Linked DNA regions of Homo sapiens: regions 2 and 3 are each linked to region 1. Evidence: promoter capture Hi-C in 16 types of primary human blood cells and fetal thymus (Javierre and others, 2016). All regions are on one chromosome and are shown on one strand. The core of a region is centred on a gene start or on the middle of the fragment in contact, and the rest is flanking DNA. Distances in the headings are between cores, read along the strand shown. Region 1 holds the start of NKD1 (NKD inhibitor of Wnt signaling pathway 1). Region 2 holds the start of NOD2 (nucleotide binding oligomerization domain containing 2). Region 3 has its middle 23 kb from the start of LINC02178.

Region 1 (4,604 bases), core at 540-3,039:
TGCTCCTCCAGGAACTCCAGCCTCAGAGACACACGGGGTGAAGGCTCAGGGCTCTGCCCAGGCTACAGTGGAATGAGGCCCTCTATCTCATATGCCAAGTAAGGGGTCTTCCAGGTCTCAGTCCCCCTAGATCTGCTACCCAGAGGGCCGCCTGCTCTACTGGGGTTCCTGTACAGGTGGTACTGATGAATGCCACAGACAATCAGAACATATTCAGATCCTGGGGCCAGCACAGCTCTGCCTTCCACCCAGACACCCCTAATACCCCCTTCTCTCTAGCCCCTACTCCACCTCCACCTTTGAATGCTGGTGGCAGAAACAAGGTAGAAGTCAGAGCAGGCCCCCAAATCCCGCCGGTACAGACACGATTCCCCATCAACTGGACCTTCACCACCTCCCCACCTAGGACCTTTCCCCCAGGCAGCCCTCTGCCTCCAGCTGGGCACTTCGAGGTTCTCCAAGGCATGCGGGCAGAGGGTCGCGTTGGTGGGGCAGGGGGCAGCTGAGAAGAGATTTTCAGACCCAGAAGCTGTGCAGGAAAGTGCTCAAAGTTGGGGTGCATGGGTTTGGGGACCCATCTCTGAGGCTGAAAGGAGGCCAGGAGGTGGGGCAGGGGTGGGGAATCATACCCGGGTGCTTCGGCCTATGGTGCCCGCCAACCGCAGCTGTCGGGGTCCCGAGACACCGCCCGGGCAGCGCTGTCTCCCGATCCACTCCTCGATGCCCTTCCGAGCCCAGGCAGCGCTCACGGCGAAGCTGTCACCTGGGACGGGGACGACATGAAGCCCCTGAGTCTGGCTCCAGGTGCCAAAAGTTACCCCCGCGGAGGGAAGAAGGAGGCGCGGTGGGAGGCGAAGGACCACGGCACGGGGGCCAGGAGGGGGTTCGCGGGCTGGGGCAGGAGCCAAGAGAGGGACGCGGGTAAGTAAAGGGGGGTTCAGCGAAGCCCTAGGAGCGAGGAGCCAGAAGGGGGCAAGAGGGGTGAGCAGTACCCCAGGAGGACGGGTTTAGGATCAGACCAGGGAGCACTGGCAGCCAGGACTGCGGAGGAGAGGGCTGGGGGTCAGGAGAGGGGCCGCAGTAGGTGCAGGAGCCAGGATATCGGAAGAAGGGCCGGGGGGCAGGAAGAGGGGGCAGGGTCTTGCGGGGAGGCGCTTGGGGGTCTGAAGAGAGGGTGCCGTGAGAGCCGAGGGCAGGGACGCGGGAGGGGGAGGGGTTGAGGGTCAGCGGTGGGAGCGCAGGACCGCGGGGAGCGGGTAGGAGGGACAGAGGAGGGGGCGCGAAGGCTGCTCAGGGAGCGGGCTTGGGGGGCCGGTGGCCGGAACTGGGGCTTCGGGGTGGCCCTGGTCATAAGACCTGGCGGGCTGGGCCGTTCTGCCGCGGCCGCGGTGTCCCCCGCGTCCATCCCCGAGGTCTGCGCCCCGCGCGCCCCTACCTTCCGGGCTCTCCCTGCGCTTGCACACGGCGGCTGCAGGCACATCGCGAGGCGGCGGCGGCGGCGGCAGCCGCGGCGGCGGGAGAAGGAAAGAAAGGAAGGGAGAGAGTTAGCGACCGCGGCGGCGACGGCGGCGGGGCCCGGGGCGAGCGCGCGGGCGGGGGCACTGACCCGGCTTGGAGTGAAGTTTCCCCATGCTGGGGCTGCGGCGGCCGGGAGCGTCCCTAAGCCATGCGCCCGGCCCGCGGGCCTGGCGCCTCCCTTGGCTCTCCTCCTCCCGAAGCAGCCCCCGAGCCGAGCGGAGCCCGAGGCGGCGCCGGGACGCGCTCCTGCCGCCGTCGCCGCGGCCCGACTGACGCCCGGGAGCGCCGAGCCCCCAGCCCGCCGCCGCGGCCCGCGCCTCCCCGCGCGCCCATTGGCCGGTGCGGCGCATCAAAGGCAAGGCTGGTTGCGGCGGGGGCGGGGCCGGAGGCGGGGCAGGGCGGGGACGAGGGCGGGGCGCTGACGGGAGGGGCGGGACACAGTCCGCGCTCCCTGCCGCGGTCTGGGGCCGGGGGCCGAGCTCCAGGGCTGGCGACCCGGCGGGGCGGCTTGTCCAGGAGGCGTATTGGGACAGAACAGCCCGGCCATCGCTAACTGTACTGTCACTTCCCTCCGCTCCACGTTCTCTCTAAACGGGCAGGGCGGGACTCGGCGGCTCCAATTTACAGGTGGGGAAACTGAGGTCGGGAGCGGAGACCTTAGCTGCTCAGGTGCAAGCTTCGGCAGCGCTGCCTTTTCCCAGTCTTCCCACGACCTACCTTCTGCAGAAAGTGTTCATTACCCGCCCCGTGACCCGCCCCCCACCACCGCACTCCTCTAGTTTCTTATTTGGGGAGTCCAGGAGGAGCCCCCAGCGCACCCCGGGCCAGTGTGAGCCCAGCCCTCTCCAGGCAGCGACAAATGTCCAAAGCGCCCCGTTATCAGCCAGTCTCTGGGATCTCCTCGTCCGGGGGCCCGTGGGTGCCCGCCCGGGTCGGGGCGCGCTGCCAAACTGCGCGGCCCGGAAGGGGGTAACCGCTGAGTCTTTGATCTTCCTTGGTTTCCGCTCCCCGCTGCAGTTCGCCAGACCCAAGGGTTTGTTTGTTTTGTCTGGGGAGGTCTCTGCGGGGAGGTCGCGCGGGGGGAGGGGGATGGTGGCGGTCGACATCAAGGGATTCCACCCCACCTTTGTGGCTCTCAGAACGCCTGCCCCCTTCTGGGGACACTGTGGGTCCGTGTTACGCTCGTCCTGGCACCAGGCAGCTCTGGCGTGGGAAAAGAAAACCCGCAGCTCAGAGTGAGACCAGCCCCGACCTTTGGAGTGAATTACCTGTGCTCAGTTTTGTGATCTGTATAATGGAGGCTCCATTCTGCCCTTTTTGCCGACTCTCTAGAGCAGCACTGCCCAATAGAAATATAATGTGGGCCACATTTGTAATTTTAAATTTTCTTGTCGCCACATCTTTTAGAAGTAAAAAGAAATAGATGAAATATTAATAATATATTTCGCTTAACTCAATACAGTCAGCCCTCCTTATTCACAGGTTCCACATCTGTGGCATCAACCATCTGTGGACTGAAAATATGCAAAAAGAATAATACAGCAAAAATAAAGAATAAAAAACTTTTTAATATAGTATAACAACTATTTACATAACATTTACATTGTATTAGGAATTACAAGGAATCTAGAGATGATTTAAAGTATTCAGAAGGATGTGTGTAGGTTATATGCAAATACTACAGGACATTTTATATAGCGGACTTGACATCTGGGGATTTGGGTATCCTCTAGGATCCTGGAACCAGTCCCCAAAGACACCAAGGGAACACCATATATCCAAAATAGTATAATTTCAAGATATAATGAGATATTTTACATTCTTTGTATTGCGCTAAGTCTTTAAAATTCAGTGTGTATTTTACACTTAAAACACATCTCAAAGACTAGCCATATTGCAAGTGACCATTTGCACTTGGCTAGTGGCTACTGCATTGGGCAGCATCGCTCTGGAAGATCTACATGTCTCAAAAGGACATTAGGAATTCACAGCCCCCCAGAGTCATAAATCTCTTCATCCAAGTGTCTTACTTTCATGTTCCAAGCTTCCTTTTTTAACACCCTTTTTGGTGGAAACGAAGGCTAATGTTATAAGCAGGTACACTAAAATCCTGTTGGCCAGGTGGTTTCATTTGAAGAGTGCTGAAACCACAAAAATATATTACTGTTGTCATTTTTATGTTACAATTCTTCATTCAGTACTTCTGATGTGCCAGTCCTCATCCTCCATCATGTGTAGCCCTCGCAACCACTCTCTGATGCAGACTCATACTTGTTCTAGAAAGGAGGGAACCTATTCAACTCAGAGAGGTGAACTCACTTGCCCAAGGTCACAAAGTTCATCCATGACCCAATTAGGAACTGAACTCCAATCTGTTGATTTCATTGCCCAGGCTTGTTTTCACTACATCAGGTTGTCCCAACACAGTGCAAAACTAATGTTCCACCACTAGAAAGAGAGTCTTCCATCTGGAAACAAATATGAAGGGCCAGCCATGTGACAACCATTGTTTTAGTCACCTAAGATACATCGGTGAACAAAATAGACAACTGCCACTCTCATCGAACTCCCACTCACCTAGGGGGAAGATAGGCAAGAAACAATAAATGATGAATTAGTAAACAGTGTAGTAAGTTACACCAGGGGTAACAGGCCATTTTTCTTTCTTTCCATCCCATAAGGACCTGACAGCAAACAATTTTGCCCTCTAGGGGACACTTGGTAATGCCTGGAGGTATCTAGTGGGTAGAGGCCAGGGTTGCTGCTACACATACCACAATGCATAAGGCAGCCCCCCCACCCTACCAGAACAAATGATCCAGCATCAAATGTGGGTAATGCTGAAGTAAGAACCCCTGAGCTGTAGGAACATGAAAAAGTGGGGCAGAACGGCGGGGGTCAGGTGTAGGAGGGAGGCAGGGGTTTGAGCATCTGAGTCGGAGTGGGCACCCTCTTTCAGACCCCTCAAAAGGCAATGGAATTCGTCTGGAATTCCTGTTTGCCTTTCTCACCCCTCCCTGCTGGTACCAGGGTGCCTCTAAATCAAAGCAAAACTTGGAGCATCCTTTCTCACAGTGCTTAGAAAG
Region 2 (4,604 bases), core at 1,106-3,605, 150 kb before region 1:
CTTCATTTGGCTCCAATCCCATTTATCTGCTCCCTTTACAGCAGGCCCCCTTGTCTGTTGCCTGTACTGCTGTCCCCAAGTCCTCCCATCCCCTCCCATTCCCTCTAGTTCCCCATCCAGCTCCAGTGAAACTGTCACCAGTGACCTCCCATTGCTCAATCCTCAGCCCTCAGCCTGCTTGCTCTGCCAGGGGCATTGGTCATATTTGTTCCCTCCTTCCTCTTTGGGGCATTTTCTTCATTTCCTCCAGGACACCCCAACTCTCTGATTTTCACTCTTTCTGTCTTCTTGGCTGGTTCCTAACACTGGGGGCCCCAGCACTCAATGGTTAGACCCCTTCTCTTCTCCATATCACTCCATCCCTAGATGAGCCCACCTGCTCTTGTGGCTTTAAATACCAGTTATATGGTGATGATGCCCAAAGTTTTATTTTCAACTCCAACCTCCGCCCTTAACTTTTCCCAACTGCTTACTCATCATTGATGCCTAATGGGCAGCTCAAACTCCACAAGCACAAAACCAAACTCTTGATCTCTCCGCTAAGCAACTCCCATTTCAGTTCATGGCAGCTTCAAACCTCCAGAAGCTCGAGCCAAACACTCAGAATCATCTTTGACTCTACCTTTCTCTTGCACCCCAAACCCTATCGACACGGCCTTTGAAATATATCCCAAATCTGAATGTCTGGTTTTCTTTTTTTTAACCACCTCTGGGCCATGGGCAAGACACCATGGTCTCTCCCGAGAATGACAGCAATGATCCGCTCAACGGGCTCTCCTTCTGCCCTTACCCCACCCCCCCCATGATCCATTCTCCACCCCACAGCTAGATGGGCCTGCCAGACCCCAAGTCAAAGCAGGTGACTCCTCTGTTCCAAACCCGTGCTCCCATCATGCTCAGAGTGAAAACCAAAGCCTCCCAGCCCCCCAGATACTCATGTGGCTCACCCCTCAATTCCTTATGACTTTGCCCAGCTATCGTGGTCTTGGGGAAGCCTTCCCTGGTTGTGCTATATACAATGCAATACCCAGCCCCAGCACCCCATCCTGCTTCCCAGCTTTGTTTTACTCGTAGTACTTCCCGCCACCTGCTACGCCATGTATTTACTTATTTCATTGCTGTCCATTCCTTTCTAGAGTGTGCACTCCATGAGGGCAGGGGGTTTTGTCTGATTTTCCTACTGCTCTGTCTCGTGTCTCATCCAGTGCATGAATGATGACTGCTGGAAAGAATGAAAGAACTGACTTGCTCTGCATGGCTCCGGGAGACAGACATGGAACCAAGGTGTAGAATCTGTAAGCCACAGATTTTAGCTAAAGGAAACAAGAGCTGCAAGGCACTAAAAAGCCACCTCATCAGTAATAAGCTCCCCACCACTGGGCATGTGTCACAGAGGGGCTCTGCACTGGGTAGGAGGGAGGTGGGCTGGATGAGGATGCTTCCAGCCTCAGATCCCAGGGTGCAGCGAGGCAAAGGGGCCTTGAGCAGCCAACAAACTCAGGGGCCCCAGCAGCCCCATGGCTGAGTGATCGGGACAGGCAAGTACAGGTGGTGGGGATGTCACTCTGGTCTTTTTCACTAAGGGGTCAGGGGAGGGTGACAGGGCAGGTGTTTCCCCTCTGTAGAACAAGGACCCTGGAGGAGGCTAGGTCACAGCCCATGGGGAAACCAAGGCCATGGCAGGAGAGGCTCAGAAAGAGCAAACTCAGAAGCAGGGGTCCAGCCCCCAGCCCTCATGCAGCTTCAGGAGGTCCTCCCCAGGGGGATTGGGGTGGAGGGCTTTTCAGTTTGTTGGAATGAAAGCAGGACCAGATGGCTGCTCCATCAACCTGAGAAGCATAGGAGAGCAAACAGCTGGGGGATGTGGCCTCGCAGGTCCTGGTGTGGGCTGTCTGGGAAGGGATGGATTTGAACTTAGATCTCACACCCAACAAGGGAGAAGGAGGAGGCAGGAGATTCCCATAAGAGGTACAGAGAGCAGCAGCAGGATCCTCCAGGCAGACTCTCTCACTTATACCCACCCACTCACTGGCATGGTGAAGCTGGGGAAACTGAGTCCCACAGAGAGGAAGGAAATCAAAAGAGTGGCCCAGGGGCCTCCCCAACCTCGAGATGCCCCCTTTCCGTCTCACTTCCCATCTACATTCTGGGACTCCCCCAGGAGAAACCGAGGCAACCCTTGCCCAAGCCCTGCGGCCAGGACGGCTCAGAAGCCAAGTGTTCAAGTCCCGGGGGTGGGACCCTCGGCGCCCACAGTCTCCCCCCAGCCCACCCCCAGGCGCTGGGCACAGCACTCACCGCGAGCCGCCTGCGCGCCGACTCCAAGGCCCACTCCGGGCCACGACTCCCGGCTCCGGCTCCGGCTCGGGCTGCGGCTCCGGGTGCGCGGGCGCTCGGCTCCGCCCCCGCCCGGACCCCGCCCCTGCTCTGCCGGGACCGCAGCACCCGCTCCTGTCCCGTGGCCCCGCAGCCCCGCAGCCCCGCAGCCCCGCAGCGCCGGCTCCAGGGCTGGCCAGGCTTACCTGGGACAGGGCAGGACCGGGGCTTCCTGCGGGGCTGGACGGCCCTGGCTGTGTGCCCTAGCCAGTGTGCCTCTCTTTCTGGGCCACGTTTCAACCAGGAGGGAATCGGGGAGTCCTCGGAACAACCCGCTTCCCAACACATACACATACACACACACACACACCACACACCACACACACCGCTTCCCAGCACACACGCGCACACACACACACCACACACACACCGCTTCGCAACACACACACACGCCCTGCTTCCCCCCCACACGCAAACATGTTTCCCAATACACACACACAGCCCTCGCTTCCCCCCACACACAAACATGCTTCCCAATACACACACAGCCCTCGCTTCCCCCAACACACATACCTTGCTTCCCAACACTCACATACACACACACACACGCCCTGCTTCCCCCCACCACAAACATGCTTCCCGATACACATACACCCCCTACTTCCAACACACACACCCTGCTTCCCAACACTCACACACACACCACTTCCCAACACACACACACCCTGCTTTCCCAACACATACACCCCACACACACCGCTTCCCAACACACACGTGCACACACACACACACCCCACACACACACCACTTTCCAACACAAACACACACTACACTCCCTGCTTTCCCAACACACACACACCCCACACACACTGCTTCCCAACACACACGTGCACATACACACACCCCACACACACACCACTTCCCAACACACACACACCACACCCCACACACACCACTTCCCAACACACACACCGCTTCCCAACACACACAAACATGCTTCCCAATATACACACACCCCACTTCCCAACACACACACATCGCTTCCCAACACACACATCGCTTCCCAACACACGCCTCACTTCCCAACACACACACACACACACACGCACACACAGCCAAAACTAGGAAAACTTTTCCAGAGTGTGACAGGTTACATGTTAGGTAAGAGTGGACTGGTCATTTAAGGTTCTTTTTTTTCATTTTCCTTTCAGTTTTTCCGTTTATGTTGAATGGAGTTTATTTCTCAGTTTAGTACTAATAGGGTTTGAGTACCTTTCTAGCACTGCCTAGATTACTTGGCTCTGAAACTATCTAATTAGCTTTAATAGCATTGTTTTTGTTTCCATTAAATATATTTTATTTTACATTCTTCTGTTCTCCGGAGCAAATGACACCGGTTTTCCATTTAACATGTTAATGTAAATGTTCCTTTTGAAACTCATATTTGGTTGTTTTAAAAAATGTGAAGTCAATTTTTAAAAATAACGAAAATAACTGGCATCTAGAAAGTGTTTACCATGTGCTAGTCTTTACAGACAGTAACTCAGTTACTTCCACCTCTAGGGTATTGACTATTATTGCCTCTAACTTATAGATGCAGAAACTGAGGTACACATTTGAACTTTGATCTCACGCCCACCAAGGGAGAAGGAGGAGGCAGGAGATTCCCCTAAGAGGTGCAGAGAGCAGCAGTAGGATCCTCCAGGCAGACTCGCTCACTTACACCCACCCACTCACTGGCATGGTGAAGATGGGGAAACTGAGTCCCACAGAGAGGAAGGTACTCAAAAAACAGTGGCCCCCTCTGAGACCTGAAGCCCGGGCTCCTCAGGACTTCTCACTCCTGCCAGGGGCCTCCCCAGCCTCGAGATGCCCCCTTTCCTCTGGCACCAGAGATGGGGATTTGCCCCAGGCCTCTGGCACAGATGAATGCTCTAACCACTACCCCATACCGCTTTCAAGTAAATACCTGTGCAGGTGGTGCACAGTCAGCCAAGGTTGGAAAATGCTGCATTAGAAGGACTGAATCTACCCTAGAAAATTCATTCTGGGCAGCGCACAGAACCATCTACAAGGATGTTCACCACCATCTTGCCTACAGCAGTGAGAAGCTAGAAACCTCCCTAATGCCCAGTAACAGAAAATTAATTAAGAAAACTGACAGAACATCTGAACCTAGAACACTTAACCCGACCCATCTTCTCTCAGCCCCACTATCCAATCTGGGAGCAAATTTTTCAGCTTGGCCTTCAAATATTTCCAAGCTGCAGCCCATTTTTGCCATATGC
Region 3 (4,604 bases), core at 1,493-3,992, 130 kb after region 1:
TATAAAAGAACAGAGAGTTTAGTGGCCACACACAACAAGAAATAGTCTTTGCAAAAAATAGGAAAAGTCATTAAACAAATGGATGGCTATAGCCATCCGCAATCAACAACAGCAAATCCTGGAAGGAGTAGGCCCAATGAACTAAAGGAAACCAAAAGGACAATGTATGAACGGATAGCGAATATCAATAAAGAGCCAAAATTTAGAAAAGGAACCAAATAGAAATTCTGGACCTGAGAAGTACAATAGCAGAAATTAAAAATATACTAGAGAGATTCAACAGTGGATCTGAGCAGGCAGATGAAAGCATCAGCAAACTTAAAGAAAAAATCATTGAAGTTATCCAGTCTGCTATGGTCTGAATTATGTCCCCAGTAAATGTATATGTTGAAACCCTAACACCACCAATGTGACTGGACATAGTGCCTTTAGGAGGTAATTAAAGTAAAGTGAGATTGGGGCAGAACCCTCACCTGATAGAATTGAAGACCTTTAAGAAGAGAAAGATCCCTCTCGCTCTCTCTGTCTCTCCCCCCACACACACATAGACAAAGAAGTCATGTCAGCATACAATGAGAAGGCAACAAGGCAAGAGAAGATGCCTCAGAATAAAACTCATTTTTGCTGGCACCTTGATCTTAGATTTCTCAGTCTTGAGAGCTGTGAGAAATAGATGTCTATTGTTTCACCCACACTATGGTATTCTATTCTGTTATAGCAGCCTGAGAAAATTAATACCCGTTCTGAAGAGTGGAAAGAAAAATACAGAAAGAAAGAAAAATGAACAGAAACTGAGGGAGCTGTGGAACACCATCAACAATACCAGCATACAAACCACAGTAATCCAGGTAGGAGAATAGAGAGAAAAGGTGGCAGAAAAAAACATTCAAAGAAAGAGTGGCCAAATTTTTCTCAAATGTGATGAAATGCATCCATATACATATCCAACAAGCTCAATAAACCCCAAGTAGGTTAAACTCAAAATATCCACATCAAGACACATTACAACCAAACTACTGAAACACAAAGGCAAAGAGAACTTTGAAAACAGCAAGGGAAAAGCTATTTGGGTCACATATAAGAGATCTTCAATAAGATTAATAGCTGATTTCTCATCAGAAATTATGGAGGCCAGAAGGCAGTGGGATGATATTTAACATGCTGAAAGAAACTGTCAACCAAGAGTTCTGTATCCAGCAAAACTATCTTTCAGCCTGGCCAACATGGTGAAACCCCATCTCTACTAAAAAATACAAAAATTACTTGGGTGTGGTTGTGCACACCTGTAATCACAGCCACTCTGGAGGCTGAGGCACAAGAAGCACTTGAACCCAGGAGGTGAAGGTTGCAGTGAGATGAGATCATGCCACTGCACTCCAGCCTGGGCAACAGAGTGAGATTCTGTCTAAAAAAAAAAAAGAAGAATGAATGAATGAAGGGAAAATTAAGACATTTCCATATAAACAAAACCTGAGGAAGTTCATTACCAGTGGATCTTCCCTACAAGAATTACCAAAATAAGTCCTTCAGTCTGAAACAAAAGGACACTAGCTATTAACTCAAAGCCATAAGAAGAAATAAAGAACACTGGTAAAGGCAACTACATAGGTAAATATAAAGTCAGTATTATTGTTCTTTGGGTTTGTAACTTCTCTTTTTTTTCTATGTGATATAAAAGGCAAATGCATAAAACAATTATAAGTCTATGTTAATGAACACACGTGTAAAAATGTGATTTGTGACAATTACAAAACAAAGAAAGAAGAACAGAGATGTATAGGAGTAGAGTATGTATACACCTTTGAAACTACATTGGTACTTTTGCAAACTAGGTTGTTATAAGTTTAAGATGTTAACTGTAATCTCCCAAAGTAGCTATTAAGAAAATAAAATTAAAATTCACAGAAAAGGAAAGAAAGGAACCAAAATGGTACACTAAAAAAAATCGACTAAATACCAAAAAAAGCAGTAAGGGAGAAATAGAGGAACAAAAAATATATAATACATATAGAAAAAAAAAGCAAAATGGTAGAAGTAAACCCCCCTTTATCAGTAATCACATTAAATGTAAATTACTCTCCTATTAAAAGGCAGAGCTTAGCAGACTGAATAAAAGAGAAACATGATCCATCTAAATGCTGTTTACATAAGACTCACTTTAGATATAACAATACAAAGAGATTGAAATTAGAAGGATAGAGAAAGGTATTCTATGCAAATAGTAACCAAAAGATAGCCAGGTGGCTATATTATTGTCAGACAAAACAACCTTTTAGTGAAAAAAGCTCAACAAAAGACATAAAAGGTGAGTATATATTGATAAAAGGTTTAATTGGGCAAGAATATATAACAATTGTAAACCTATATAAACCTAACAACAGAGACCTAAGATAGATGAAGCAAAACTTGACAGAACTGAAGAGACAAATATCTCTAGGAAGCATGGGAAAGCAGAAAAATTTAAAAAAAAAAAAAAGAATTGAACAGAGAAATAGACAGTACTACAATAATTGGAACCTTCAATACCTCACTTTTAATAATAAACAACAATAAGATAGAACATCAGTAAGAAAGCAGAAGATATAAATAACACTATAAACCAATTAGACCTAAAAGACATATACAGAACATTCTACCCAACAGCATCAAAATACACATTCTTCTAGGTACACATGGAACATTATCCATGATAGACCATATGTTAGGGTACAAAACAGTCTTATGAAAAATTTTTAGTTGAAATTATACAAAGTATATTTTGCAACTACAATGGAATAAAACTAGAAATTAATAGTAAAAGGAAAACAGGAAAATTCACAAATATGTGAAAATTAAACAACAAATCTTAAATAAGCAATGGAGCAAAGAATAAACCACAAAGAAAATTAGAAAATATTTTTTCAAAAATGAAAATGATAACACAGCCAACCAAATGTATGGAATATAGTGAAAGCAGTGCTATGAGGGAAACCTATAGCTGTAAATGCATACATTTTTTAAAAAGAAAGATCTCAAATCAATAACCCAATTGTATACCTTAAAAAACTAGAATGAGAAGAAAAAACTAGACCTAAGCTAACAGAAGGAAGGAAATAATAAAGATTAGACTGAAGACAGAACACACAGACACACACACACACACACACACATGCATGCACACACACACACACACACACTACGGAAAGAATAGAAAAGCTATAGAGAAATATCAACTAAACAAAACATTAGTTCTTTAGTTCTGGGTTTTTTTTCTTTTCTTTCACTCTTAACACTATTCAATGATGGTTCTTTGAAAGATCAACAAAATGGATAAACCTTTACCTATACTGACTAACAAAAAAAAGAGGAAAGACACAAATAACTAAAATTAAAAATGAAAATGAGGACATTACTACCAATTTTATGGAAATAAAAGGGATTCTAAGAAAATACTATCAACAACTGTATGCCAGCAAATTGGATACTCTAGATGAAATAGACAAATCCTAGAAACACATAAACTACCAAAACTGACACAAGGAAAAATAGAAAATCTGGATAGACCTATAACAAGTAAGGAGATTGAACTAGCAATCAAAACCTCCCAACAAAGAAAAGCTCAGGACCAGATGGCTTTACTAGTGAATTCTACCAAATATTTAAAGAAGAATTAATATCAATCTGTCTCAGATTCTTCCAATATACTGAAGAGGAGGGAACATCTTATAACTTATAAGGCCAGTATTAACTCTGATACCAAAATTGGGCAAAAAGGGTATAAGAAAGGAAAACTACAGACCAATATCTCTTATGAATACAGGTGCTAAAATTCTCAACAAAATACTAGGAAACCGAATTCAGCAACATAGTAAAAGGATTATACGTCACAATTAAGTGGGATTTATCTCTGGAATGCAAGGATGGTTCAACATAAGAAAATCTATCAATGTAATACATAACATTAATAGAATGAAGGAAAAATTATCATCGTCTCAATTGATGCAGGAAAAATGTTTGCAGAATCCAATATCCTTTCATAATAAATAAGCTAATCAACAACTAAATAAGCTAAGAATAGAGTAGAACTTCCTCAACATGATAGAGGCTATATTTGAAAAATCTACAGCTGATATCATATTCAATGATGAAAGACTGAAATCTTTTCCCCTTAGAACAGAAAAAAACAAGAATGCCTGCTTTTATCATTTCTGTGCAACATAGTAATAGAAGTTCTATCCAGAGCATTTAGACAAGAAATAGAATTAAAAAGCATCCATATTGGAAAGGAAGAAATAAAATTCGTTTATTCACAGATGATATGCTCTTTTATGTAGAAAACCCTAAAGAAGAACACACACACACACATACGCACACACACAGTTAAGCTAATAAAAAAATTCAGTAAACTTGTAGGATATAAAATCAAGACACAAAAATCAGTTGTGTTTCTTACACACTAGCAATGAACAACTCAAAAAGGAAATTAATTTAAAAAGTCCATTGACAACAGCATCTAAAATAATAAAACACTTAGAAATAAATTTAACCAAGGAAGTGAGAGACTTATACACTGAAAACTGCAAAATATTGCTGAAAGAATAAAGATCATCTAAGTAAATGGAAAT

The links. The method cuts DNA at HindIII sites, captures the fragments that hold promoters and counts their contacts. A CHiCAGO score of 5 or more calls a contact.
Region 2: the fragment with the promoter of NOD2 here is called in contact with the fragment with the promoter of NKD1 in region 1 in 6 of 17 cell types (non-activated CD4 T cells, monocytes, naive CD8 T cells and 3 more); the score reaches 6.4 in non-activated CD4 T cells.
Region 3: a fragment that was not itself captured here is called in contact with the fragment with the promoter of NKD1 in region 1 in 4 of 17 cell types (non-activated CD4 T cells, total CD4 T cells, naive CD4 T cells and 1 more); the score reaches 7.7 in non-activated CD4 T cells.

Annotation. Positions count from the first base shown.
Region 1 is chr16:50,545,581-50,550,184 of GRCh38, reverse strand. NKD1 (NKD inhibitor of Wnt signaling pathway 1) reads right to left here and starts at 1,789. Exons shown (of 10, transcript NM_033119.5): 1 at 1,607-1,789; 2 at 1,436-1,468; 3 at 630-763. The coding sequence starts at 1,631. RefSeq lists silencers at 1,467-1,656, 1,697-2,146. The HindIII fragment of the contact is 5,196 bases long and covers 1-2,196 here.
Region 2 is chr16:50,691,357-50,695,960 of GRCh38, reverse strand. It overlaps NOD2 (nucleotide binding oligomerization domain containing 2), which reads right to left and starts at 2,355. Exons shown (of 12, transcript NM_001370466.1): 1 at 2,299-2,355. RefSeq lists enhancers at 1,386-1,465, 1,706-1,755 and a silencer at 2,126-2,635. The HindIII fragment of the contact is 14,983 bases long and covers 1-4,604 here.
Region 3 is chr16:50,415,858-50,420,461 of GRCh38, reverse strand. No RefSeq gene overlaps it. Among named protein-coding and RNA genes, the nearest start is that of LINC02178, 23 kb to the right of the region's middle. The HindIII fragment of the contact is 7,581 bases long and covers 1-4,604 here.